4 separate regions of the Homo sapiens genome follow, and regions 1, 2 and 4 are each linked to region 3. The links are contacts of gene promoters, found by promoter capture Hi-C in human tissues and cell types (Jung and others, 2019). All regions are on one chromosome and are shown on one strand. The core of a region is centred on a gene start or on the middle of the fragment in contact, and the rest is flanking DNA. Distances in the headings are between cores, read along the strand shown.

Region 1 (7,606 bases), core at 217-2,716, 770 kb after region 3:
TAGACAGATCAACAAGGCAGAAAGTTAACAAGGATACCCAGGAATGGAACTCAGCTCTGCACCAAGCAGACCTAATAGACATCTACAGAACTCTCCACCCCAAATCAACAGAATATACATTTTTTTCAGCACCACACCACACCTATTCCAAAATTGACCACATACTTGGAAGTAAAGCACTCCTCAGCAAATGTAAAAGATCAGAAATTGTAACAAACTGTCTCTCAGACCACAGTGCAATCAAACTAGAACTCAGGATTAAGAAACTCACTCAAAACCGCTCAACTACATGGAAACTGAACAACTTGCTCCTGAATGACTACTGGCTACATAACGAAATGAAGGCAGAAATAAAGATGTTCTTTGAAACCAACAAAAACAAAGACACAACATACCAGAATCTCTGGGACACATTCAAAGCAGTGTGTAGAGGGAAATTTATAGCACTAAATGCCCACAAGAGAAAGCAGGAAAGATCCAAAATTGACACCCTAACATCACAATTAAAGGAACTAGAAAAGCAAGAGCAAACACATTCAAAAGCTAGCAGAAGGCAAGAAATAACTAAAATCAGAGCAGAACTGAAGGAAATAGAGACACAAAAAACCCTTCAAAAAATTAATGAATCCAGGAGCTGGCTTTTTGAAAGGATCAACAAAATTGATAGACTGCTAGCAAGACTAATAAAGAAGAAAGAGAGAAGAATCAAATAGATGCAATAAAAAATGATAAAGGGGATATCACCACCTATCCCACAGAAATGCAAACTACCATCAGAGAATACTACAAACACCTCTACGCAAATATACTAGAAAATCTAGAAGAAATGGACAAATAATTCTTTAATTTCCATCTTGATTTCATTGTTGACCTAATGAAATTGAGAAGCAAGTTATTTAATTTTCATGTATTTGCATGATTTTGAAGGCTCCTTTTGGAGATGATTTCCAATTTTATTTCACTGTGGTCTGAGATAATACTTGATATAATTTCAATCTTCTAAAATTTATTGAGACTTGTTTTATGGCCTACCATATGGTCTATCTTGGAGAAACTTCCATGCACTGATGAATGTAATGTATATTCTGTGGTTGTTGAGTAGAATTTCTGTAAATATCTGTTAACTCCGTTTGTTCTAGGGTATAGTTTAAATCCATTGTTTCTTTGTTGATTTTCTGTCTCGATAACCTGTCTGGTGCTGTCAGTGGAATACTGAAGCGCTTCACTATTATTGTGTTGCTGTCTTTCTCATTTCTTATCTCTAGTAGTAATTGTTTTATAAATTTGGCAACTCCAGTGTTAGGTGCATATATATTTATGATTGTGATATTTTCCTATTGGACAAGGCCTTTTATCATTATATAATGTCCCTCTGTTTTCTTAAACTTCTGTTGCTTTAAAGTTTGTTTTGTCTGATATAATAGCTACTCCTGCTTACTTTTGGTGTCCATTTGCATGGAATGTCTTTTTCCACCCTGTTACCTTAAGTTTATGTGAGTCCTTATGGTTAGGTGAGTCTCTTGAAGGCAGCAGATATTTCATTGGTGAATTCTTACCCATTCTGCAAATCTGTATCTTTTTAGTGGAGCATTTAGGCCATTTACATTCAATGTTAGTATTGAGATGTGAGGTACTATTCCATTCATAATACTCTTTGTTGCCTGAATACCTTGGGTTTTTAACATTTATTTATTTATTGTATTTTTTTATAGGTCCTGTGGGATTCATGCTTTAAAAAGGTTCAGTTTTGATATGTTTCCAGGATTTGTTTCAAGATTTAGAGTATCTTTTAGCAGTTCTTGTAGTGCTGGCTTTGTAGTGATGAATTTTCTCAGCATTTGTTTGTCTGAAAAAGACTGTATCTTACCTTCATTTATGAAGCTTAGATTCGGTGGATACAAAACTCTTGGCTGATAATTGTTTTGTTTAAGGAGGCTAAAGATAGGGTCCCAATCCCTTCTAGCTTGTACAGTTTCTGCTGAGAAATCTGCTGTTAATCTGATAGGTTTTTCTTTACAGGTTACCTGGTACTTTTGCCTCACAGCTCTTAAGATTCTTTCCTTTGTCTTGACTTAGGTAGCCTGATGACTATGTGCCTAGGCGATGATCATTTTGTGATGAATTTCCCAGATGTTCTTTGAGCTCTTTGTATTTGGATGTCTAGATCTCTAGCAAGGCCAGGGAAGTTTTCCTCAATTATTCCCTCCAATATATTTTCCAAACTTTTAGATTTCTCTTCTTTCTCAGTAACACCAATTATTCTTAGGTTTGATTGTTTAACATAATCCCAAACTCCTTGGAGGCTTTTTTCATTTTTAAAATTCTTGTTTCTTTGTCTTTGTTGGATTGGGTTAATTTGAAAACCTCGTCTTTGAGCTCTGAATTTCTTTCTTATGTTTGTTCGATTCTGTTGCTATTTCCTTCATTTCCCAAAGTTGTGATTGTTTTCTATTTATGCTGTCTATTTCACTGAAGATTTCTCTTCTCATATCTTGTATCTTTTTTTTTTAATTTCCTTAAGATAGACTTTTTTTATTTCCTTAAGTTGAACTTCACCTTTCTCTGGTGCTTCATCAATTAGCTTAATAATTGACTTTCTGAATCCTTTTTCTGGCAATTCAGAGATTTCTTCTTGTTTGGATCCTTTGCTGGTGAGCTAGTTTGATTTTTTTAGGGGTGTTAAAGAACCTCATTTTGTCATATTATCAGAATTGTTTTTCTGGTTCCTTCTCATTTGGGTAGACTACGTCAGAGGGAAGATGTGGGGCCCAAGGCTTCTGTTCATTGTCTTTTGTTCAACAAGGTGCTCCCTTGATGTAGTACTCTCCCTATTTTCCTAGGGATGTGGTTTCCTGAGAGCTGAACTGTAGGGATTGTTACTTCTCTTCTGAATCTAACTACCCAGCAGGGCTACTAGGCTCAAGGCTAGTACTGGGGGCTGTCTGCAGAGAGCCCTGTGATGTGAACCATCTTCAGATCTCTCACCTCCCCTACTCTGCTAGAGGTGGCAGGGGAGTGAAATGGACTCTGTGAGGGTCCTTAATTGTAGCTGTTTAAGGTACTAGTTTTGTGCTAGTTGGCCTCCTGCCAGGAGGTGGCACTTTCAAGAGAGCATCAGCTATGGTAGTATGGGGAGGAACAGGCAATGGGTGGGGCCCTAGAACTCCCAAGGGAATATAACCTTTGTCTTCAGCTACCAGGGTGGGTAGACAAAGACCATCAGGTAAGGGCAGGGTTAAGTGCATCTGAGCTCAAGACTCTCCTTGGCGAGTCTTGCTGCAGCTTCTGTGGGGGATGCGGGTGTGGTTCCCAGGTCAATGGAGTTATATTCCCAGGAGGATTATGGCTGGCTCTGCTGAGTCATGGAGGTTGTCAAGTAGGTGGGGGAAAGTTGGCAGTTACAGGCCTCCCCCAGCTCCCACACAATCCAAAAGCCCGGTTTCATGCCCACTGTACCCTCCAAACAGCACCAAGTTTGTTTCCAGGCAGTAGGTAAGCAGGACTGAGAATTTGCCCCAGGCTACCAGTCTCCCAGCTGAGAAAGCAAGCAGAGCTTTCCTGCCTCCTTGCCTGTGGACTCTGCACACCAGATTCATGCCCTCCCCTGAGTTCTGGCCAGAACACTTTGCATTCAGTTGGAATTGTTACGAAGTTCAGCTGGTGGTTTCCTTCTCCCTGTGGTCTTTTCCCAGTTCCTCTGGCAGCCCCTCCCCAAGGACCTCTATGAGACAGTCAGAAGTGGCTTCCCTGGGGACCCAGAGAGCCCACAGGGCTTTACCTGCAGCTTTTTCTACCCTTGTATTTTTTTTATATATTTATTTATTTATTTTTAATTTTATTATTATTATACTTTAAGTTTTAGGGTACATGTGCACAACGTGCAGGTTTGTTACATATGTATACATGTGCCATGTTGGTGCGCTGCACCCATTAACTCATCATTTAGCTTTAGGTATATCTCCTAATGCTATCCCTCCCCCCTCCCCCTGCCCCACAACAGTCCCTGGTGTGTGATGTTCCCCTTCCTGTGTCCATGTGTTTTTATTGTTCAATTCCCACCTATGAGTGAGAACAGGCGGTGTTTGGTTTTTTGTCCTTGCGATAGTTTGCTGAGAATGATCGTTTCCAGTTTCATCCATGTCCCTACAAAGGACATGAACTCATCATTTTTTATGGCTGCATAGTATTCCATGGTGTATATGTGCCACATTTTCTTAATCCAATCTATTGTTGCTAGACATTTAGGTTGTTGCTCGGCTCTCTAAATTATCTCAGCTCCAGGTAAGATAAAATCCTTCTCCTGTGATCTGACTTTCAGGTTCCCCAGTGAGAGTGTGTGTTCAGAGATGGACAATCACCCTTTCCCAGTTTCACTGTTTGGACACTCACAGTATTTAGGCTGTCTCCTGGGTCCTCCAGGAGCAAACCACTCCTCCAAAGCGTCTGTAGATTCTCTCAGCTGTCCTAGTATATTCCTGGCAGGTAGTTCTTAGAGAAAGTGTTCACAATGTGAGACTCCACATGCTCCTCTTTCTGTCCAAGTGGGAGTGTAATTTATTCCTGCCTCCTATCCCTATTTTTTTTTTTTTTTTTGAGATGGAGTCTTGCTCTATCTGCCCAGGCTGGAGTGCAGTGGCACCATCTCAGCTCACTGCAACCTCTACCTCCATAGCTCAAGCGCTTCTCCTGCCTCAGCCTCCTGAGTAGCTGGGATTACAAGTTTGTGCCACCATGCTTGGCTAATTTTTGTGTTTTCAGTATAGACAGTGTTTCACCATGTTGGCCAGGCTGATCTCAAACTCCTGACCTCAAGTGATCCACCCACCTCAGCCTCCCAACATGCTGAGATTACAGGGGTGAGCCACCGTACCTGGTATGGAGCTAGTTTTAAGTATGTTTAATCAACCAATGACAACTCACTTCAGTAAATATGGTTTTATGAAGTAACCAAATATGGTTCTGTGAAGTAACCAAACAGCAAAAGCCCTTCACATCTGAAAGTCAGCCAATCAGGTAAAGACCCAATGACCACGCATCTGAGTGCCAGGCAATCAACAACAGTCATATACAAATAACCACATAACTACAGTGATGTTAAATTACTCCATGTTCTCTGAAAATCTGCTAGTCATTGAACTTCATCATTTTCCAAAACTCTATAGAAGATTAGCATTCTTCTCTGCTTAGAGACACTGTGCCTGGCTTATACCTCCATCAAACTCTGTGGCCCCTCTTACATTCATATCAGGAGCTCCTAAGCCACCGATATGATGTCAGTGGGATCCACAGAACCCAATTTGAAAACATATGGTGTATACATTATGACAGTGCACTGAAAAAGATTGTTTAAGATTCTACAAGTAATCATATTTTGTCAAGTTTGGTGAGGTTTAAAAAGCATAAACTAAAATATCAGACAGCAGTGGCATATAAGTTGGGGAAGGGGTCAAAATTCAGCAACCTAAATCTTAGATTATTTAAGTTGGAGATATTAATTTCTTAAATTTGTCTGCATGTTAAAAAAAATTCAAAGGCAATCATTAAGTAAACGACATAAAATGTGTAACTTCCATTCCAGAAAAAGAGAAACAAAGCAACAAAATAATCTGGATAATCCAATACGAGGAAGGAAAGGAAAAAAAAAAAAAGAAGCAAAGAAATGTATTATCAGTGATGTTCTAGAGCCAGCTTATAGTCTTTCAGCAGCTTTCAAGAGCTGCTATGCACATCTCTTTTCATCTTTTCAAATCTACTTCAGTTACTTCATGTCGGTTGCTTGAATTCTGCCATCTTGACAGTATTTACATCAAGGAAATAATCAAATGCTACAAATTAATAATCAAATGCTTTTGTTTCAGAGAGCCTGTGTTTTGTATTTGTTTAGAAGATATCCACATAAAAATAGTAGAGTTGAAAAAATATGAACTTGATGTTGAGAACTAGTGACACTGAGCAGAGACAATTCTTATAAGGAGGTAGCTTCAATTGCGTAGTTGTTACAGAGTGGCATAGGGCCAAGGAGAAGTTGTTTTATAATAAGGGGAAAAGCCTGAGCATGTTTACATGTAGAAGAGAGGGACCTAGCAGAAAAATAAAGCACACTTATGATACTGAAGAAAGAGAACAGAATTGATAAACAGGGCCTTGATGCATTGACTGAATTAAGAACACAAATGAGAAGAAAAGAACAGAACACAACTGTTATGTAATGGGAGGAGAGGTTGAATGCAGAAGGTTGGTGTTTCTAGCAAATATGGGTATAAGGCAAAGTCCAATGTAAAACTCCCCATATTTAGTACAACCACATCCTCACATTTCTGCTTCCAACAAAATTTGGGCTAGCCAAGCAACAGCAGCTTTTAAGATGAGATAGAATAAAGGTCTTGAAAGAACAGAGTGTGGATACTTTACTGCCATAGGAAACCACAGATGTTATCTTGATGTCCAAGGCAGCTGCAGAACTAACAGCATGGGCAAAAATTGCATCCCCTGGGAACCTACCTTTACTGTTTCTCCCTTTATCATATTCTCATTTTTTTTCTCTCTCTCTTGTTCCCAACCCTCTCCTATGGAACACTCTGCATCAATTTTCACGTGAGGATCACATCTGCACTGAAGTCACTAGGACAGGCAGAGGTTGCTGCAGTTGCATTGATGGCTCTCGTCCTTAATGACACTTTTTTTTTCTCATCAAGATGGAGGCATAATGATCTTGAAGCAGCAAAGGGATCAATTAAGATCCTGATCCCACTTCCCATCCTTCTATTCAGGCTGGGGTGATGGGATTTAGAGGAAGCATTGAGCATAGGAGAGATCCAGATTTTATTAGAGAAAATAAATGGAGGTCATATTCAGAGAATGGTTGAGGATTAGAGGTGTCAAAGAACTCAGCTGAAATATTCAAGAGAGAGGAGAAAACAATTATTTGAGGGAAAAAGGAAGCACATTACCAGAGTAAAGCAGGAATTAGTGGAAGGGAGAAAAGACTCCAGAGACTTTTTTTCTTGGATACTAATCAAAGGAGGATAGATGTGAGATACTGCATTTTTCTCTCACTACTAAATGATAAGATAGCGGAAGAAGGGATTTGGTATGTATTGCTAGGTTCTCGAGATAGCACTGGGAAAACTGAAAACATTCTCTAAGAACTCCTAAAGAATGTGGTCCCTAGTCTAGAGTTGTGATCTCCTTTTCACATGATTAAAGTTTTTGCTTGCATTCTACTGTTAGAGTGATTTTCCCCATAATACAAGTATTTGACACACTGGGGAGGCTGTTAGAAATAATTTAATGTAACAGCTTAATGTCCTTCTTGATTTCTGAAAGATATGTGAATATAATTATGGAATATTTTTCTTGATCCAAACAGGAAATGACCAAATAGATTGGGGTGACACCACTTAAAGAGGAAAATCTTGCAATTATTCTCCTTTATTGAGGCAAAAGCCGTTACCCACCCATCTCCTTTTCAAGGAAAATGTTGCCTAGGATTTGGGACTCCAGATACTAGAAGAGTTAGGAAGGGTATCCAATCACTATGGCCTTCACTGTTTGACTGTAAAATGAGGATGTTGGGCTGGATGATCTCAAAATACCTTGTCACCTC
Region 2 (7,004 bases), core at 2,560-5,059, 570 kb before region 3:
TACTTAAAATATAATATATGTCTTTCTTGATCAACAAATGAGCTCCACATCAAATAATTTAAATAATGCATAGAATTTCATGTGGTGAAACAAACTATTTATTTGCTGTTTTTAAACTTTGTTTTCTATCTGCATTTTCCTGCAGTTTACAAATAACTATAGGATCAACATTTTTTACAAGAAAATAATCTTGCACATTTTTGTAAGTTGTAAGTGGTTTAATTTGTTTTCCCCAAATCATAAAACATAATTTCATAATTTGGTCCTTATCGAGTAAAATGAAATTCTTTTTTAATGACTAAGGGACACACATGAAGGCAAATAGTACCAACCCATTTCGGGTTGGCAGATGCTATAAAAGGGAAGACTATTTTCTTTACCTTCTAATTAATTGCCTGTGAGTTAGATATTTTTCAGAACCCCATGTTACCTTGTATTTAATACCACCACTATCCCTTTTAGCTAAATGTACTGAAAAGAGAAGAAGATGCAGTGTCTAGGAATTTAGTATTATTCTCAAATGGCATTGAATCTAAAATGGAAAGCTTTTTTTTGAACAGATATATTACATTTCTGTCCCCTTCACTAAATCCTGGCCAATCTGGAGGATGTGTAACAGGAAAGTATATATGTAGCACAAGGAAAAAATCAATAAACTGGGGACTTGGAATTGATTTTACTTTGCTACATTTCTAGGAAAAAGCCAGATCATTGGCAATAGTCCTGAAAGAGAGTGTCTTAGCTCCTTTGTGTTGCTGCAAAGGAATGCCTGAGGCTGGGTAATTTATAAGGAAAAGAGGTTTATTTGGCTCATGATTCTGAAGGCTGTGCAAGAAGCATAGTGCCAGCATCTGTTTCTGGTGAGGGTGTCAGGCTGCTTCCACTCATGAAGCCAGTGCATGCACAGACCACATAGCAAAAAAGAAAGCCAAGAAGGAGAGAAGGGAGGTGACACACTGTTTTTAATAAATAGCTCTCGCAAGAACTAAGAGAGTGAGAACTCATTCATTACCATTAGGATGGCACCAACCCATTCATAAGGGATCCACCCCCATGACGAAAACACCTCCCATTGGGCCCCACCTCTAACACTAGCGATCCAATTACAACATGAGATTTGGGAGAGTCAAACAAACTAAACTATAGCAGAGGGACTTTACATTAAAATATGTATCCTACTAAAATTATATAATATTTGCAATATTCTTAATTCTTGTAAAATAATTCAATGTAAAGGCTTGAAGCAATTTACAAAATCTAAATTCATTCAATGTTTGCTTTGTAAGGATGAACTGAAGAGATATTTGTTATGCTGTTTTTTTTATGCTGCTGTATTTTTTCTAAAATTCTCTCTAGAATACAGCATACTGTTTTTTAAGGATCTTTCCTAGTTTTTCTGTTTTAGTTTTAATTATGTCTTTTATCTATATCTGTATGTTACTTCCCTAAACTGTACCATTCCCTTTTATTCCTTTCAAAAACTGCTTTTTATCTTTCTATAGTCAAAGAATATGATTTTACTTCACAGTTTGATATATTTCCTCTGGCCATTTTTAATAACCTGGTGAAATAATACCTCTTTATAATTAGGACATAAATAATTTATTTATTTAAACATTCTGATAAAAATAGACCTACAGGTAGGTACCAGGTGGACTAAGCAAAATGTTGATAATAAAGACCCAAGAGTGCTTATTTTGGTGACCATAGGCAAGTTTTATACTTTTCAAATGTCAAAGGTGTTAATTAATTTTACTCTTTCCAAGATAGAAAATAATGCTTACGGAAGGTTCATTGCTTGTTACAAATTAATGCTACATAGGAATTAATACCAGGAAAAATGAATACACATAAGGGAAAGAAAAGCTTGATTAACTACACAGATGGATATGTGGAGCACAGAGATGAAATGAGGGTTTAGGAGTTACCACTGCACTAAGAGTTGCCCTTTCCCCTTATGCTTACAACGTTAGCACAGACAAAGCCTTCTCTTGAATTATTTTACCTTAGCAAATTACTACTTTCAATTGTATATGCAAAGCTTGCTTATTGCTTTCTGTTCTGTCTGCACATCTTTGCATTCTGTTCTTGTTCTGTCCCGCAGGATTAGTAGCCAGGTTATTCTTTCAGTCAAATCATGACCCTAGTGTAGGTTTGTTACCATCATGTTAAACAGCCTTCATGTCACGGTATGAAAAATTCTTGATCCAAACTTTGCTTTTCACTCATGCTAGTTGTCATATGAAAAATACCTTCAGCTGCAAATAAGAAAAAAACCTGTAACAGTAGCTTAAACAAATAATGAGTTTGTTGATTTCCACTATTTTCACCATGCATGCTCTTCTTTCACAGGATTGTTGCTTCATAGTCCCAAATGGCTGCTACAGTTTTGGACATCACATCTACATTTTAATCACTAGCCCTTAGATAATTACCCACTATCTTCGTAGAACTCACCTCATTTCATTATTTTTAGTTCTAAATAGCCATTTATTTCATATCATTTATTTCATGCCATTATTTCTGTCATTATGCCAGACTTTGCCCTTCTTCTCAGATTAAAATCATTTCTACATAAACAGGCATAAAAATGTCTGACAACTTTATAACATTTTGTCGTTTATACTTTCTAAATGCTAGACATCATAATTCTAAAGATAGTGCTATTAGTTGATTTTTATTTTTACATAGATACACCTACAGCTTTTTCAAAGTACTGAAATAGTAAAACAGAAAGGATCCCAAAGTAATTATTTCTTCAAGCATGAAGATACAGTTAGGCATCTTAACTGATGTAAGTCTGTGTACATATACATTTTTAGGCATCACTGTTATTACAGTGCTAATTTCTAGGAGGACAAGTTCTTTTCATATTTAACACTTTATCTTCAGCAACTAAAACCTCCTGGCATATTGTAAGTCTTATAAAAATGAATAAATGTATCATTTTTCATTTATGCTTTGCATGATCATTTTTTGCATATTTTATTTGTTTGGTTTACGAATTTATGTATTACATAGTTCAAAGGGCCATTTATTTTTACTTCTGAAGTCCTGATATTCATTAATAGACTTATTTCCTAAAGGGATATCTAACCACTGTGGACAAAAAACATTAAATTTCAAGGTTTTCCTGACTTTGAAACATTATGTCTATACATTTGATATATGAAGGCAAACCTAGTCCCTGTTATTTGGTGGGCACAGCCCACGGATACTGAATTTACCATCATGTATTGAAAATTATTTGAGTTAACAAACAAATTTACAAGAAAAAAACAAACAACCCCATCAAAAAGTGGGCGAAGGACATGAACAGACACTTCTCAAAAGAAGACATTTATGCAGCCAAAAAACACATGAAAAAATGCTCATCATCACTGGCCATCAGAGAAATGCAAATCAAAACCACAATGAGATACCATCTCACACCAGTTAGAATGGCAATCATTAAAAAGTCAGGAAACAACAGGTGCTGGAGAGGATGTGGAGAAATAGGGACACTTTTACACTGTTGGTGGGACTGTAAACTAGTTCAACCATTGTGGAAGTCAGTGTGGCGATTCCTCAGGGATCTAGAACTTGAAATACCATTTGATCCAGCCATCCCATTACTGGGTATATACCCAAAGGACTATAAATCATGCTGCTATAAAGACACATGCACACGTATGTTTATTGCGGCACTATTCACAATAGCAAAGACTTGGAACCAACCCAAATGTCCAACAATGATAGACTGGATTAAGAAAATGTGGCACATATACACCATGGAATACTATGCAGCCATAAAAAATGATGAGTTCATGTCCTTTGTAGGGACATGGATGAAATTGGAAATCATCATTCTCAGTAAACTATCGCAAGAACAAAAAGCCAAACACTGCATATTCTCACTCATAGGTGGGAATTGAACAATGAGAACACATGGACACAGGAAAGGGAACATCACACTCTGGGGACTGTTGTGGGGTGGGGGGAGGGGGGAGGGATAGCATTAGGAGATATACCTAATGCTAAATGATAAGTTAATGGGTGCAGCGCACCAGCATGGCACATGTATACATCTGTAACTAACCTGCACATTGTGTACATGTACCCTAAAACTTAAAGTATAATAATAATAAAATATAAAAAAAGAAAATTATTTGAGTTACAACATAGAAAGGTAAGTATTCATCCTAATTTCAATTTCAAACAAAAGCAGTATGAATATACTATATGTGAAGAAAGAAAATGATTTTTTGCCTACTGCATGGCAGGCTAATTTTCAGATCAAAAAGATCATACACTTAAATATCCTCTTTGAAATCTTCCTAAAAGGTACAGGAAATTGTGTACTTAAAGAAGATATAATTAAAAAAATACTGACTGAGCATGTTGAGACTTTATTCTTCATGCCATTTTTATTTTAGCGTTTTCTACTTATATTCAGCTTGTCCCATTTTCTAGCATTTTCTACTTATATTCAGCTTGTCCCAGTTTGACTTAATAAAATTCCAGTGGAAACCATTTTTTCTTCAGAATAGTGCATTGGAACCATCAAGAGATCTGCTGAGAATCCCTCTAGAGAGAACACTGAATAGATTGAGAAAGAACTGGTGATTCACACTTAAATAATTGTACAAAACATATAAAGTTTTTACTCTTTTAACTGCTGATAAAAGTGACATTCTGCATACTCTCCATGTGTGTTCTCATTTACTGGCAATAACTTCTTATGGAACTATCAAAAGCAAGGCAAAAGAAATAAACAAAAACACTTTTAATAAAAATGCAAGTGAAATATATATTCGGGCTTGAGATTTATTCTACTTGAAGATTAACATAATAGTTTCAGCATTTTCCTCTGCATGAGCATCGGTTTTGCATTGCAAATAATTGGTAGTATATACTTAGGAATTTTGGAAATGAAGTAGCTCGAAGGAGGCATTACTACCATCATCACTGTCTGCTTGTCTGTGATGCCTGGGGACTGACCAGCAGAAAGTTTGGTCTTTTCTTTCCATTTCCCACAGCAAAATATACATAGACTTTCATGAGCAGAAATTTCTTAAGTATGTTTAAAGAACAATTGCTAATATTTTGTGATGGCTTACTGTAATTCAGGAATTGTCTTAGCGAAGGACTTTCCATATAATTATTCTTGCAAAAATCCTAGCGTAAGTATAGCTTTGTCTATATTGTGTGAATAAGAAAACTGAGCTACAAGATGATAAAGCAGCTTGCCTAAGGTCATACAGTCAGTAATCAGAACAGAAATTTGAATATAGCTCTGGGTTCTTAATTTCTATTCTGCAGGAATGGGTGAACCTCACATAACTACTAAATACTTTCAGGAAATTTTAAGATCAAAATATTTCTCTGAGGTTAATCAAAGTAATATATATTTTTAACACTTTTTTCGTGGTACAGATAAAATCTTTATATTTTTATGTATTGTATTAGTTTGTTCTCAAGCTGCTATAAAGAACATACCTGAGACTGGGTAACTTATAAAGGAAAGAGGTTTAATTGACTTACAGTTCCACAGGGATGGGGAGGCCTCAGGAAATTTACAATCATGGTGTAAGGGGAAGCAAACACATTCTTTTTCACAAGGGAGCAGGACAGAGAAGAATGAGTTCCCAGTGAAGGGGGAAGCCCCTTAAAAAACCATCAGATCTCATGAGAACTAACTCACTATCACATGAAGAAAATGGGGAAACCACCCCCATAATTTAATTGTCTCCACCTGTTCCCTCCCACAACACATGGAGATTATAGAAACTACAATTCAAGATGAGATTTGGGTGGGGACACTAAGCCTAACCACATAATTCCTCCCTTGTCCCCTCCCAAATCTCATGTCCTCAAAATTCAAAACACAATCATGCCCTTCCAACAGTCCCCCAAGTACCTTAACTCATTCCAGCATTAACTCAAAAGACCAAGTCCAAAGTCTCATCTGAGACAAGGCAAGTTCCTTCTGCCTATGAGCCTGTAAAATCAAAAGCAAGTTAGTTACTTCCTAATACAATGGTAATACAGGCATTGGGTAAATACAACCATTCCAAATAGGAGAAGTTGGCAAAAACAAAGGGCTACAGGACCCATGCAAGTATGAAATCCAATAGGGCCATCATTAAAGTTCCAAAATTATCTCCTTTGACTCCATGTCTCATATCCAGGTCATGCTGATGCAAGAGGTGGGCACCCACAGCTTTGGGAAGCTCCATCCCTGTGGCTTTCCAAGGCATAGCCCTCCTTCTGGCTGCTTACATGGGCTGGCATTGAGTGTCTGTGGCTTTTCCAGGCACACAATGTAGGCTGTCAGTGAATTTACCATTCTGGGGTCAGAAGGACAATAGGCCTTTTCTCATAACTCCATCAGGCAGTGCCCCAGTGGCAACTCTGTATGGGGGCTTCAATCCCATATTTCTCTTCCGCAGTGCCCTAGCAGAGTTTTTCCATGAAGGCTCTACTCCTGTAGCAAATTTCTGCCTGGTCATCCAGGCATTTCCATACATCCTCTGAAATCTGGGTGGAGGTTCCTAAACCTCAATTCCTGACTTGCATGTGCCCACTGGCCCAATACCACATGTAAGCCACCAAGGTTTGGGGCTTGCACCCACTGAAGCAACGGCCTGAGCTGTACATTGGCCCCTTTTAGCCATGGCTGGAACTGAAGCAGCTGGAATGCAGGGCACCATGTCCTGAGTATGCATAGAGCAGACTTCCCTGGACCCAGCCCAGGAAACCATTTTTCCTTCCTAGGCCTCCAGGCCTGTGATACAAAGGGCTGCTCTGAAAGTCTCTGACATGCCCTGGAGAATTTTCTCTATTGTCTTGCTGACTAACATTTGGCTTCTTGTTACTTCTGCAAATTTCTGCAGCTGGCTTGAATTCGCCCCAGAAAATGGGTTTTTCTTTACTATTGCATTGTCAGGCTGCAAATTTTCCAAACTTTTATGCTCTTCTTCCTCTTAAACACTTGCCCACTTAGAAATTTCTTCTGCCACATA
Region 3 (7,925 bases), core at 4,749-7,248:
TTTTGAAAAGAAAAACACAGTGATGAGAAAAATCATAATGGTTAAACATGTTTATGTAAATAATTAGCTCCTTTTATTTTGAAATAGGTACATTGTCTCCTAACTTCTGATTCGCTCAGTGCCACATTAATAAAAGGTCACAATGTTTTAAAATGCTAAGATTTTAGCATTATATCAGGACTAGAGATGAATTTAAAAAACTGAGTTTGCATATATGAAGAAAAACTTTAGGTTTGATTTGGAGACTCTCTGCCTGAATTTACAGCTCTGAAAAATCTGCTATTTCTAATCAGCGATAAACCTCCTCTCCCTTGACTCATGGAACTTTGTTTTCACTGAGTCTAGAGGCGTTAGTATCAGTTGCAAAATGTCCTGGAAGAGGGATTTAGAGATCCTGAATGGTCTGCGCCTGCTTCTGCTAAACATCTCAGAGACACTCTGCCCCCTGGTGGATTGTTCCAGGGTGGGTTTCGATTAACAGTGCAGACTTCCCTTCTCCCACCCTTTCTCTACCTCGAGTAGATGCCCCAGTTGAAAGCCTTTATCCCCACCAATTACACATTCCTTTGGTTCAACAATTCCCTTTTAGATAATGTGAAAACCCTTAATTACTTAATCAGCCCTTCACAGTTAAAACAAGAACCATAAACATCATTATTGGTTATCATGATTTGATACAGGTAAGAAAAAAGTAGAGAAGTGAAAAATGAGGTGCTGCAAATTAAAAATGTGGATGTGGCCAGGGACTTTGGATTCTAGAAAGACAGCCAGAAATCTCTAGACAAGGAAGAGGAAGAGGGTTTAAAAGTGAATAAAAGGACGCTATAAGAAATAATTAAACATTTGGCAATTTCTTCTTGGCCGATAGAGCCACCGCAAACCATCCTTCATGTTCCCTTTTGTTCTTTGGGGTGTATGTCACCTGCATAGGGGATTAGTTGTAAAAGGCTGTAAAGCTCAGTCGCTTCTAGTTTTTGCCAAGTTTTTCCCATTCAGGCTAGTTTGATCTTCTCCAGTCCAACTTCTCCCAAGTACCCCTGTTCTGTGCTACAGGCACTCTGCATCCACAAAGGAGACAATGGGAAATAATGGCTAAGAGGAAGTCCTGTCTGCTGAGAGCCAAAAAAGTGTCAGGCATCTCAATAAGTGCTTTACATGTATAGGTTCTAGGCCTTCACATCAACTTGTAAGTAGACAGTATTTGAGAAAAAGAACCACATATTTCTAACATACTTTATTTGCAATTCAAACCTAGGACTGACTACAAAAGCTACCTTTCTGCCTACTTCACTGGTCTTAAGATAGGTCAGTCTACTCCTCTTAAGTCTTCTTCTAACCCAGTTCCTCCTGTATTTTAAGCACCATACAGTCCTTGGAATCTCACTACCTAGCCTAGAGACTAAAGGTCCCCTCTAAAAACTAATCTGGAAAACTCTTGTGATAGTGGATCTAACCCTCTCTCTTTGCAGAATAGGAAAGCACAACCCATTTCTTTCCTTTCAAATTCTTCCTTCAGATATAAACTAAATCCCCCAAGTCATGGCAGCACATATCAGGCAGCCACAGTATCATTTACTATTAGTCATTCTCTCATGAAGGGTCAAACTCCTAAACACAACCCCAGAATCCAAGGAACCAATCTTTCCATAATAATAGAACTACTACCCGACGCTTTTTAGAACACAAAAGGACTTTTATTTATTTTCCTAAATTTCATTTCCAATGATACATTTCCTGAAAGATGGAATACCAAAGGCAATTTTCAGTCACAGCAACTCCATCAAATACACATAATCTGATATTTTACTGCTTCAGTGAATTATAATCTTCTCAGGGTTTCCTGGTTAAAGAAGACAAAACTAAGATAATAGAGAGGAAAAGTTAAGAATATTGTTCTTTAGAAAATTTGTTGAACTCAATAAACATTCATTCATGGGTGTAGTGTCCATTTTTAAAAGGAAACTCTAAAATTCCTAGAAACACAAGACAATACTGGTAATATTGAGTGAGTATACATTCATATATTTCTGTGAAAATTTGTGCAATTAAACAATATGGAAAATGTTGTTTATTACCACAGCCAATGAAAATATATTTCCATTGCTATGTAAGTTAAACATTTCCATCTCCCGCTTCATGTTCTGCAAAAAAGCCATGTGCCTAGTTTATGAAATAAACTATGCTATAGGCAACAGTAACTGAAAAGGAGCTTAACAGTCTTAACTACATACCCCTGGGATGAATACTACACTTTGCATAATCATGTGCAATGCTGAATGATGATTCTATATCTCTTATAACTATAAGGGTTTGCAAGCTTCTATTTCATACAATATGCCCCAAATCCAGGCAATACAGCCAAATAGTCAAGCAATAATTTAGGTGGTTAATCTACAAAATGGCAAACAACCCATTCGACTAAACTGATTGTGTTTTGTTAATGTGAGGACACCATCATTGCAGGTACCCTATAAAGAAATCATTTGAAAGTGGCTATTTGTTTCAATTAATGTTTCCCCCTAAGGCTCTTAGAAGTTGACTTAATTGCCTCTTAGGACCAAAGAAAATACAACTGTATAAACAGAAGACCACAGTATTAATAACATAAAAACAAACACCACGCTCTATGCACATTCCTCCATAGGAGAAATATCACAAAAAGCAAACAAAGAAACTTGGGATCCAGCAGAAGTATAGGCAAATCTAATGCCTAAAATTTTCTCTCACACCAGTGACAGGTATAAATATTGATCAAAACTCCCCTTTTTAGTTAGCTTATGTGTGAATCTTTGAATAGTATATTTTCAAGAGTGATTACTCAAGGTGAAGGTCTGCACAGTAGGCAAGCAGTGTACTTCAGCTCAATGTATTTATTGTCTGACAAACAGGACTGGGGAGTTTCAAGCAAGGAGTGAATCCATTTCACAAAGACAACTTGCTTCTGCAGACAAAAGGTATCAACTGCAGAATGCCCTCTGAGGAAAGGAGTGTGAATTTTCTTTGGCATGTTAAATGCTGTACATATACATTTTTTTCCGTGCAGATAATCCCTCAGGGCTACTTCTTATTAAAATATACATTTTTTTCATATTTTATTTCATGACTTTATCCTGTATTAGGGAGCTCTCAGAGGAAATTTGAAATAACTAAGTATTCTTGAAATTTGAAAAGACTGATAAATTTAAAGTATTCCAGATATTATATTAATTGAGATATCAGGTTGGTAACAAATTTACAAAGGTCAAAAGCTTGCCAGTTTCCTGATTGTTAGTAAGTCTGAGGTTTGGTTCTGCAATTTTTTCTTTTTTAAACAAACAAAAAACAAGACAAAAACAGGCTCAATTTTAGTTTCTCTAAGCTTTTCTAAAGTTCTTATATGTCATTTTCTAGCAATCTTTTCTCCTGCCCAAACTTCAATAACAACAACAACAAAAAAGAAACAAGTTTATTTTCTTTTCAATATCGTTTTTAGGGCCCTTAACTGTATTTTTAAGGTTTCTGGAGAAGGAAGATAGTTCTCTTGGTTTCTTTATATGTTAGCACACAAGGAATCACAGATGGGAAGGAGAGTGCAAATGACTATCAGATAAAAGTTTCATGCATTTTAAGATTTTTTTACAAGTCAAAATATACATCCTCCTATTGCCCCCACCCCATTCCTCAATTGTGTAAGAACTATCCCCATGTCATCAGTCTCCTTCACATCTCACTAAATTGGATAAGAAATAAAGACACTTTTCTTGTTAAGAAACAGTATATTTCCAATACTAATCGGTTTTACCAATTGCATTAGTAAGAAATATAGCAGCAGTGTGGGCTGAGTCACCCATCATACCCTTCATTTATGGGGATTTAAATGTGTAAAGTGACAGGTACATGAAATTAAGAGAAAAAATAAAGCAGTCTGCAGACTTCGGCACTAGCACACATAATGGTTTGTTTGTTAGAGTTGTGGCTTGACAATCGCTAAACAGGAATTACAAAATTGTAAATCTGCAGAAAACAAACAATCATAGGTGTTGATTCTCAGTTTAACACTCCTCATCTCCCATTCCCACCCACCCACCCCCATATAGTTTCAAGTATAATAAAAATAGAGATCTCAGCATCAGAATTTTGCTGTTAACTCTTCAAGGTTTCTCTGCGCCATCCAAGCCACACATAGGGTTTGAAGCACCAAATCCACAAGTTTCTCCAACCAAGTTTAAATAGACAAAAAGTGAAGACTGAATGATGCCAAAGTAACTGTTCTTAAATTAAGCTGTAACACAAAGTTCTCCCCCCAAAAACACAGGGCATTAAGCGTCTAGTTCAAGTACTGCCAGGCTGTATGTAGATCTGTCTCAGACAGGCTTCAGACAACAATTACAAGTACACTGCTTCTAGTGGGCATTATCCACGATACCAAAGCAGGGCAGGGATTCCCTTCCATTATCAATTTTTAAAAGTTGCAACCCCCTTTGGGATTGGCTGCCGCAGGGTCAGTGCTGAGCCCGGGGCTTGAGGGGAGGAAGTGAGCCTCCTCCTGGGCAGGGAAGCTCTACATTTAGTTTCAACACTTCTCCTTTCAGAGCTCTCTCTCAGGACTATTCTGGCTTCTCAGGATCCATTGCCCTTGCCCAGGAGAGAGAGCCTCGCTGGGACCCAGAAACCGCGAAAGAAGATTCGACCTACCTGTGGAACCAGACACAACTTGGTCCCCAAAGGTCGCTTAGGCGACCCCACTGCAAACGGCAAGTCAACTTGTGCACTTAAAACGTATCAGTTTATGGAATGCTTGTTTAAAGTCCTCATTGGACATGGTATAGATTATGGGGTTGATGAGGGAGTTGAGATAGCCCAGCCATGTGAAGAAGTCAAAGATGGCTAGGTGGAACCAGCAGGCATCTTTGCAGATAGGCATCACTAGGGAGATGATGAAGAAGGGTAGCCAACACACAATAAAGGCTCCCAAAATGATCCCTAGGGTCTTGGTGGCTTTGCGCTCCCTAGCGGCCATGAGTTTCTTCTTTTCCAGCAGGGCGTCGGAGACTCGCACTTTGACTTGGTTCACATACACAGGAGATCCGGATTCGCTGGGCACGTCGGGAACCCGCGAGTTAATAGAGGTGACCGAGGACGTGGACCCGGGGGAGTCGGTTATCAGCTGGGCTCGGGTCAAGCGCTTGCCGGTCCTGTTGGGCGTCTGTTTCAAAATCCGGGAGCGGGCTTCTACGTAGATGCGGCCATAGAGGGCGATGAGGAGCAGGGTGGGGAAGTAGAAAGCACCCACCGTGGAGTAGACCGTGTAGAGGATGTGGTCGGTGTTCACCACGCATTCCGACACCTCCTCTTCGGCCTTAGCCTGACGCCAGAAGAAGGGCGGCAGCGAGATAGAGATGGAGAAGACCCACACCAGCGCGATCATGACCGCCGCCCTCTTGGGAGTCCTTTTAGCTGAGTACTCCACGGCGTCCGTGATGGCCCAGTAGCGGTCCAGGGCGATGACACAGAGGTGCAGGATGGAGGCAGTGCAACAAGTGATGTCCGACGACAGCCAGAAGTCACAGACCACCTGGCCCAGTGTCCAGCGGCCGGTGACAGTGTACATGGTGCTGATGGGCATCACCAGGATGGACACAAGCAGGTCGGTGACCGCCAGAGAGGCGATCAGGTAGTTAGCCGGGGTGTGCAGTTTCCGGGTCCGGTACACTGTGGCAATCACAAAGGCATTGGAGAGCGTGGTGGCCAAGGTGATGAGCGCCAATAGCATAACCAGCAGTACTTTCCAGGGTAGGGAGATGGAGTCCTGGTAAATGTAGTCCTTGGCGCTGCAGTTTTGGGAGGGAGCAGAGGATAAGTTGGCTTGAGGAACCCAGGTCTCGGAGCCCGCGGGCGGCGGTGGAGCGCACTGAGCACCCGGTTCCTCCATGGCTCTCCTCGCCCCAGCTCCGGAGCGCAGCTCTTGGGCATGGAGCGGACGAAGGAGAGGGCGGAAGGACCGTGGCGATCGCAGGTTTGTCCCCAGTTGATAGTTCCGTGAGTTCCTCAATTATTCCTCCGCCCAGGTTCACAGCTGAAACTAGAGGTCATGGGTGCGGCAGCCAAGGCAGGCGGGCGCCTCCCCTGCACTTCCAGAGCGCCTAGCTAAGCCGCCGCGTCTGTGGTTGTTCCTCTCCACACCGGGTCTTAGACCTGGGTTGCTAAGAGCTGGCCCACCGAGCCCTGCTCCGCTCCAGCTCCCTGGAGGCGTCTAGTGCAGGAGGGTGAAGTACTGCTTGAGGAGAAGGCTTTGACCAAATGGGATCTCTTACCCCAGTTGCTTGAGGCTGAGCGTCTCCTAACCTGGACGCTTTTGGATCTGCAGACTTTGCCCACAGGAGTTTCCTAGGTGTAGAGACCAAAGCTTGCAGGCCAGCGAGAGGTCCCGAGATCTTGCATTCCCACCCCTCGCCCCAAGCTGGGGCACTTTTGGGGGGCTGCAGCGGCCGCCAGAGCTGGGTGGGGTGAAGTCTAGGAGCAGCGCTGCGCCGCGCCTCGCGCCGGAGCTCTGCCCTCCCTCTCTTTTCACTCTCTGGCCACTCGGACGAGCTGCCCCGCGGAGACGGAGCCATAAAAGGGGGGACACGGGGGCTGGAGTTGCGGCTGCTCGGGCCGCGCCGCCGCCACCGCCACCCTGGTCCCACGGGAGCCACTCGGAGCCATGCCACTGGGTGCGCGGGTCTGGAGGACCTGGCGCGGCACACTGGGAAGGGGCAGGTGTCTGGGGGAGCTGGAGGGACGCGGCGTGCACCAGCCCGGGAGAAGCGTGCGAGCTACGGAGCAGATGGGCTCTTTATATAGAGTCCAGGTCCGGTCCGCCAGAGCAGTGCAACTCGTGCGGCGCGGCGGGTGCGGACGCCCGCTCCCCATCACCTTCCCTTTTTCTCTCTCCCTCCCTCTTTTCCCCCCGCCCTGTTCCTTTCCTGGCCAAGGAAGCTCCCGCCGGGTCCTACCGCCCTATCTCCCCGCTTCCCACCCTGGGCCATCCTCCCAGCCCTGACAACCTGGAGCTGCATTTCTGGTCAGGGGAAGAAGGCGTCCTGTTCTCGCCTCTACGGACATCAGAGCTTGCTGCGCTGACCTCCAGTGAGACCCATGTCCTTAGCCATGGTCACAGGTTTAGTCCAGCAGTCTGGCCCTAGGCTCCTGCCTACCACTCCCACCCTAGGAGGCCAGTGTTAGGCGGGGAAGCCCTGGTCTCTGACCTCTCCGCTCTAAAATCATATCCAGCCCTGATGGCCACACCCAGGTTAGGAGGCACCAGTAATATCGCTGTAGAGGGCCCAATGTTTGCATTTTGTACTTTGCCGTCCTTAACTCTTGATACAATAAAAACTATTTTTTCATCTAGTTTTAGAAATTTGTGTTTTTCACTCAACTATGAGTCAACAGGGAAAAAGACAAGCTATCTGCGAAAATGTAAAAGTTATCACAAACAGAAGCCAACTGTATGTGAAATTAAACCTTCTGCTCCACCATCCTCTTCCAGCTGCTCAGTGCTTCAGTGCCTCTGGAAAACAGTTGCCAGTAAGCGTGTTCCTTCCAACAGCCTACCTAGAAAGGAGGTCATCAGAATTCAAGAAAAAAGGGGGATGGTGGGGCGGGGAGGACTGGAACCATCATCAGCACCATCTTGTGTGTCTCCTTTGCCTTCAACTAATATGTGGGAATGTCAGCCATAAGCTGCAGCATGCAATACCAGTACCTAGGTCTCATGACCAGGGACGGATCCCCTGTCCTCAGTTTCTCCTCTGACCTCAACAGAAACAAATGTAGGGTAGAGATGCAAATCAGAAAGTATGAAGAAAAGCTCCAGGAAAGGACAAGGTATTTTCAGCTCGAAGGATTAAATGATCCCCACTACGAATTCCTAGAGCCTAGATCCATGTTTGGCACCTAGAGTG
Region 4 (7,196 bases), core at 4,681-7,180, 620 kb before region 3:
TAAGGTATACATATACCCAGAAGCTAAATGTCTTGATGTTTTTAAATTAGCACAGTTGAAATAGTCTTGAATATTCACAAATCACTGTGAGAAACAGTTTATCCTGATTTGTTTTTATCAGACACTGTCAGAATTCTTGCATTCTACATGTTTAATAACATTGGGAATTGTCAGGATTGCTTTTGTAAGTATAATATATTCTGTGAGTGAAATTTACTGTTCTTGCTTTAACTTGTGTTTTCCTAATTTAGTAAAGTTGGGTAGCTGAATATATATACTATTTTTGGTGAGGGAAGGGGCATGTGGTGTATCTCTGTTAGGAATCACTTAACACATATCTCAATTGGATTACTGTTTTCTTTTGGATGTGAAAAAGTTCTTCATGTATTTTGTATGTACATTCTGCCTATTATACATATAAACATATTTTCTAAGACTGTTTTGCCTTTATACTTTGTTTATGGAGTCTTTTTACAAGATAGAAAAATTTTGTTCTAATGATGTCACAGATGTCACATATTTTAATTATTTTTTTCTTTCATGTGATTTGTTTGGTATCATCAATAAATATCCCTTGCTATCCCAGTATCATGAAAAACTTCTCCTGTATTATTTCTCATAGTTTTAAAATCTTGTTTTCCAATTTAAGTGTTTAACCTATTTGAATTTTATTTTCCAAGTATAGGGATTTTTTTTTGTATAATTCAGAATGTCACTTGTTCCAACAACATTTATCAAACATTCCATTTTATCTGATTTGATATAGATAGTAATCTTGGCTATATGCCAAGATAATACACACAATGTATTTTCCTCTTTTTCTAGAAAATGAAAAACCCCTATGAGAGGTTTTGCTGTGAAATGGAGCAAAGGAATGAGGAAATACCTGGACTGAAGTATAGAGCCAAGCCATGCCTATTCTAGCTCCAAAAAAAAATCTTGACTATTATAACTTCTCCATGGCCACAATGCCAAGACACTCTAGAAAGCATGTACACAAATTGAAGGCATGTTTCCATTGTCCAACATATCATCTTCTACATGAACAACTAGCTACCTCACTTGCTTGTCTTCCATTTTGCATTTTGACTTGCTTTCTCATCTTCACTCCCACATTCTATTACATTACAGTTTTAATATTTATCATATAATAATAAGATAAACATAATGTTAGATTCAAGGCTGGTTGGTCCAGCTGCTAATGAATGCATCAAGGATCCAGTTTATTTAATGTTGCTCTGAAATCCACCGAGTGTCATTTTTAAGGCTGATTCTCTTTGTGGTCATAAGGTGGCTGCCTGTTTTGGTCAGGTATGCTCCAATAAAAGAAGAAGCAAATTTATTCTTTGCTTAGTAGGCAGAAGAGTTTTCATTCACTTAAACTAGTGATGTTAAGCAGGATGATTGTGCTCTTAACCAACAGGGAGCATTTGGAAGTCGTTGGGAACATTTTGTTTGTTATATCTGAGGAAGGTCTTAATGACATTTGGTGTATAGAGGCCAGGGGTCCTTCTAAAAATCTTAAAATGTGAAGGCTATCTCCCTATAACAAAGAATTATCCGATTCAAAATATCACTAGGTTATACAAATCACATCAGTCTCTCTATAGAGAGTGATGATGTTTTCCCATTGTTCATCAAAGTAAGTTATTCATGCAATGCAATGCAAGCCACTGCATGATCTAGTCTCTATTGACCTCTCCACTTCATCCTTTGTCACTCTCTACTTTGCTCAGTATTTCAGACACAAAGCCCTTTACAATTTTCTCCTCAGGGACATCTCCTCTAATTACCCTATCTACTGCCACCATTTTCCTATGCTTTGGTGCCTTGTTTGTTTCCTCAATAGCAAATCACAATTTGTGACTGTATACTTATGTGTTTGTGACTCATTAATTTTTCCTCCTCTACATCTAATTATATTTAAAAATTCTGAAGTATGACTGTTTTCTTGGCCTCATAACAACTTTATTGTAACTAAAACATAGTAGATCCATGATAATCTTCTTTTGATATATGCATGTATATAAGAACACATAAACATACCTCCACATGCTATTTAAATATGCATACATAGGCAAATAATTTTGTAAATATATAAATAACATTTCTGAATAGTGAGATTGCTAGCAACATTTTTTTAACTTTTTGCTTATAGGTATTTTCTAATTTTTCTACTACAACCGTGTTATTTTTGTACTGAGAAAAAATAAATGTGAAAAAAAGAACAATTTCTCAAATTATTTTGGCCTAAAGTCTTAAAATAAATATAGTGCATAGTAACTTTACAGATTCAAGAAGCTTTAAAATATCCTCTAATATCTTGCTGGAATTGGTCCCATGAAACTATCTGAAATAGCAGATTATGGAAACATTTGTGGTTGTTTAGTACTCAATGGGAATACTTTCTCTTTTGGCAATGAGCAGATTGCTGTTTTGTTGTTGTTGTTTACATGTACTTTTCATGAAATTATACATAAGTACATATAAGTACATGTTTTCTCACAATAACACGCTTTATCTTTTAAAATCACAAAAAGAATGTATTTTTATTATATACATAATTTAATTATGTTATTAAAAATGACTGACACTTTGGTATCAGTTTAAACCAGATTTTAGAAAATTCAATGATTGCTTTTCTAAAGTAAACAGTGTTAGCATAAATCATCATTGGGAACAATTTTATATGTTCACTGAAGTGACACTTACTTTTTAAAAAATACAATTTACAAAGTAAAGCAAAGAAAACTGTATGGAGCACAGTGTTAAGAACTAGAGGGACAAAAAGAGGAAAAGTTCCAATGTTTGGAATAGTAAAGGGACTTCTACAGAGCTATACACACTTGATCTGGGACTTACTGAATCAGGGGTACAGGGTAGGATGAGAGTAGCTCAAACATTGTGAAGGAGGTAATGGTATTGAAAGCAAACATAGTCTATTTAGAAGCTTGTATTAAAGTAATTATAACCTGGAGTCCCATCGTGACTTATACAAGCTCTTGGATACAGATGTGTTTCAGAATTCAGATCTTTTTTATATTTCAGAAACACAGTAAGGCACACATACTCTATAACACTCAATGGGATCTGATAATGTACCCTGTAATCAAATGAATTAATTTTTCCAATAAAATAAATAAATATTTACACTATGTGGAATAAATATAGACTAGATACACTCTAAAGTCAGTCCAAGTCAGGCTTTGCTGTCAGATGTGTTCAGGTCAGGTCAGGGTTTGTTATAAAAGAAACTACACAGAAACATTCAAATTTGTAGCTTTGGAATTGTAGAGAAGGTGTTGTCAGCCTTATGTAACATTTATTGATAAATTATTATGTGCTATGCAAGTGCCTTACATGTTTTAACAACGGACGAGTAACAAGACCACTAAGTCAATACAGCTAGAAGGTCACATAGCTAGAAAGTGATGGGGCAGGGATTTGAATTGAGGCAATTTTTGATATATTACCTCTCTTACAATATACTCTAGCAACTTATCTATAGCTGCATGAAGGATTGAATGAAGGACAGGTTGGAAATGAGGCCAAAGAGATAGGATGCAGAAAAACTTTAAGAGTGAGGAGAGGGACACAGTAGAAATTAAATATCCAATGGTTATCCTCAATGAGGTTTTTCTAATCTATGGATTATCAGTTATTTTCAAACTATTTTCATTTTTGATGTGCAATGCAAATATTTCTTGGAAGATATAGCTGCAGAACAAATAAGCAAGCAAGCAAGCAGTATTTGACTGTTAATCCTTATTATTCTTAAATGAATTTCACTTAACGATTCTTAAATCCTAATCTTTCCACACCCAAAGCAAGCAGTTTAAATCACCTTCATGAAACTAAACCTTCCCAGTGTCCAAAAACAGCTTTTGAAAACGTAAAATGCCCTTGAACAACCAGTGTACTTTTGCCAAGAATATAAGGCAACCTTGGAGGCTCAAGGCGCTGGTGCTCCCGCTTGGTTATTTTTCCACACTTGAAAAGCCATCTCAAGCTTCTGGGAGTTGGAAGCTGCTTCTTATTCTACACTGCTTGTAAGGAGATGCAAAAACAATCGATGCTTGCTTCTGGAAAGCTGTTTACTAGCTTCTTCCATAATTCAGGGTGGCAGGCTATCTGACTCCTCAGGCTAAGATGTGGTATAATGGAAAGATGCAGGACCCAGAAAGAGAGGAAGCCTGATTTCTAACCCCAGGAAAGTCCTTACAGAGTGAGAAGACTAAGCTCTCATTTCTCTTCTCTCACCACAAGGTCCTCAGCTTTTGAGTGAGAGACTTGTCTAGCAGTATGTTTTGGGTTTTTTGTTTGTAGTGTTTATTATAATCATTTGATCATAGTATCTGCTATATTGTAAACATTATAAATATAGAAAATGTAGAAAATCCAGGTTTTGTTATTGTCAGGAATATAATATTTTTCGTCCATTCACATAACAAATATTTCTTGAGTAGCTACTTTTAGGCAATGCTAGATATTATAAAAAAAAAAACAGATAAAAATGTACAGAGTTTCTTTCCTTGTGGAAATCTAACCTAGTGAGAGCCATAGATGATTAAATAGATAATGACAATAGAGGGTAATCTGTACTGTGATGACTCCTGTGGGAGTGAGGAGGAGGCACCTAACTCCAAATCAGAGCACGATTTTTTTTTAACAGAGTGAAAAAAACATTATTTAAAACCCAAAGTGCCTTTGTTCTCCACTGTCTTCTAGTTGAAGCAGAGTAGTTAAGTAGTGGGAAGTTAAATCACTTTAGTATATGATTCTCATCTATCTTGCAACAGAGATTGATAAATAAAAAATAAAAGAAAAAGAAAGCTTTGAATAGGTCTCCTGTGCTAGCAAAGACTCATGTCTGGAGTGGATGGTCCTTTATTTTAGCAGGCAAGAGTGAACTGGGTAGCAGGAGCTAATGTTCTGCATAATAATGTGAAAAGAATTGAAATGCAGAAATTTTGCAGAGGAAAGATTCCTGCACAGCTTGGCAGAAAATGAGCACCGTCTTTTTAAAGAAAGATGGTTAAGTCTTAAAGCCTCATATTTTAGTAACTTTAAAGCTTATCTTTTACTTCAATACTTAATGAAGGCTGCTACATATTCAAAGATAAATATTAATGAAGTCATCTTGGGGTGCTATGATCTTAACATGTCCCCCAAAATTCATGTGTTGGAAACTTAATCACCAATGCCAACGGTGTTGGGAGGTGGTGGGGACTTTCAAGAGATGTTTAGGTCATGAGAGCTCTGCCTTCATTAATAGAGTAATATCAATGTAAAAAAATGGCTTTCAGGAGGGAGTTTTCTCACTCCTCTGCTCCTCTGCCATGTACGGGCATAGCATTTATCCTCTTTTCCCTTTCTGCCTTCTGCCATGTAAGGACACAGCAAGCATGCCCTCACTAGATGGTAGAGCCTTGGCCCTGGACTTCTTAGGTTCCAGAACTGTAAGAAATAAATTTCTGTTGCCTATAAATTACCCAGTCTCAGGTACTCTGTTATAGTAGCACAAGACAAACTAAGACATAGGGGAAATCAAAGAAAAGGAATAGGCATAGAAATTTATGGTGGCCAGGGGAGAGAAGGTGAGAAACAGCAGTAAGAGTTGAAAAATGACTGAAGTCATGGGTTCGGCGAGGGTAGTGGTTCCGGGTCAGAAGGCATCTGGTATATTTAAGTGCCTAGTACATCACAGAACTCTTGATTAGGTCACTGGACTTCCTTTAGAGTGTGGGATAAGAACTTGAACAAATATAATTTAAATCTTTCAGAGAATAGGCAGCCCAACTAGTGTCAGGGTTACAGTATTATAGGGTTACAGTATTATAGAGAAATATGAACACAGAAAACTTGACAGTCAGACATAAGGTCCCAGGGGAGACTGGATTCTGCCTAACGTCAATCTTCCTTTTCTCTATCTCAAAATGATTCACAGAATAGAAGAAAATGACTGTGTTCACAGAAAAAACAAATCAAAGGAATAATTACTTTTTTATCTTCCGTAAAATTCTAAGTATCAGATTCTTAAGCTGACTTAATGTATATTATGTATTGTTTTATATTACATTTGTTTTCTTTCAGTTTATATTCTAGAACTCTTTTTTTTTCCTCATAAGGTAAGCAAGATCATATAAATTAAGTCATCTGTTGGCATAGGCTAAACCAAGATGACTTGGTGCTGAAGTCACCTTATGCTGAGGCCCTAGGTTGAGGCTAAGGTACTTGTACTTTCCTCTACATCATGTTCCTTATGGGAATGTAAATCAAGGAGGACAGGCACAATGTCTATATTGCTTCCCAGCTATGAGTATTCTCAATTCTCAGCACAGTGTCTGTCACATAGTAGAATACTTTTGTTCATGTCTGTATAAAAGTAAGACAGACATTTATGTAATGATTATGAACTCTCACACATGTACTTGTGGTTATGGTTTTACTATGAGTATGCCCTCTATTTGAGATTTTTTTCTCTTATAATGATGAAGTTGCATTAATATGTTTAATATATATTCGTTATCACACAGATTTACTAATATATTGTGAAGGAGTGAGGCTGAGGTGCTAGGGTCACCTAAGATCAGGAATTTGAACAAAGCTAACTGGCCTTGCTGATAACAGGAACCAATAAGCTTTTTTTTTTTTTTTTGAGCAAGTGATCTTAGCAGCAATACAATGAAGTATTTTGAACTATGTAGCAAGATAAGTAATAAATACTGAAATGCGATGACTAATGAGTTTCAGAATTACAGTTCAGCAGTTATCAAGTTTTTTATAATGATTCTACTATGCTTTATGCCCCCAGTTGACACTGCATATAAAAGTACGTGTTAAGACTGAAACTGTCAGTATCTTCACACCTAGTTGTCCAAAAAATTTTTACTGGTTAATATATACCTTAAAATTAAGAGTGTAAACTGTGAGGGGGCTAATGTTGCTAGTTTTATCTTAAATAATCTAAAAATCCTGATGATAGATTTTAATTTTCATTTTTAAAGACATGTTTTTTCCTCAAGGTCTAAATGGGTATTTACATAATTTACAAATATAAATTATTAAATCATTGCTGGTTATGGATGTTCAGCCAAACATCAATGCATTGCTTTTTGACTTTTTGCAGCAGAACATCTCCACGTGAGTCTTTTCACCTCTTTTTTCCCAGCACGTTGGGGTTATAAAGCACCACA

What was found. Contacts are between HindIII fragments. The study calls those that stand out against the background at their distance.
Region 1: a contact is called between a fragment that was not itself captured here and the fragment with the promoter of HTR1B in region 3, in 1 of the 25 tissues and cell types used here (lymphoblastoid cells).
Region 2: a fragment that was not itself captured here is called in contact with the fragment with the promoter of HTR1B in region 3 in 1 of the 25 tissues and cell types used here (dorsolateral prefrontal cortex).
Region 4: a fragment that was not itself captured here is called in contact with the fragment with the promoter of HTR1B in region 3 in 1 of the 25 tissues and cell types used here (aorta).

Annotation. Positions count from the first base shown.
Region 1 is chr6:78,227,729-78,235,334 of GRCh38, forward strand. All of the region lies in intron 1 of LOC105377865 (a long non-coding RNA gene), which reads right to left. Among named protein-coding and RNA genes, the nearest start is that of MIR10524, 310 kb to the right of the region's middle. The HindIII fragment of the contact is 7,053 bases long and covers 1-4,993 here.
Region 2 is chr6:76,887,832-76,894,835 of GRCh38, forward strand. The region is part of intron 2 of LOC105377862 (a long non-coding RNA gene); the gene reads left to right. Among named protein-coding and RNA genes, the nearest start is that of LINC02540, 300 kb to the left of the region's middle. The HindIII fragment of the contact is 9,171 bases long and covers 1-7,004 here.
Region 3 is chr6:77,457,493-77,465,417 of GRCh38, forward strand. It overlaps HTR1B (5-hydroxytryptamine receptor 1B), which reads right to left and starts at 5,999. Exons shown (of 1, transcript NM_000863.3): 1 at 3,432-5,999. The coding sequence starts at 5,911. The coding sequence ends at 4,739. All of the region lies in intron 5 of LOC105377864, which reads left to right. RefSeq lists a silencer at 4,865-5,009. The HindIII fragment of the contact is 6,434 bases long and covers 2,783-7,925 here.
Region 4 is chr6:76,833,823-76,841,018 of GRCh38, forward strand. All of the region lies in intron 2 of LOC105377862 (a long non-coding RNA gene), which reads left to right. Among named protein-coding and RNA genes, the nearest start is that of LINC02540, 240 kb to the left of the region's middle. The HindIII fragment of the contact is 4,902 bases long and covers 3,480-7,196 here.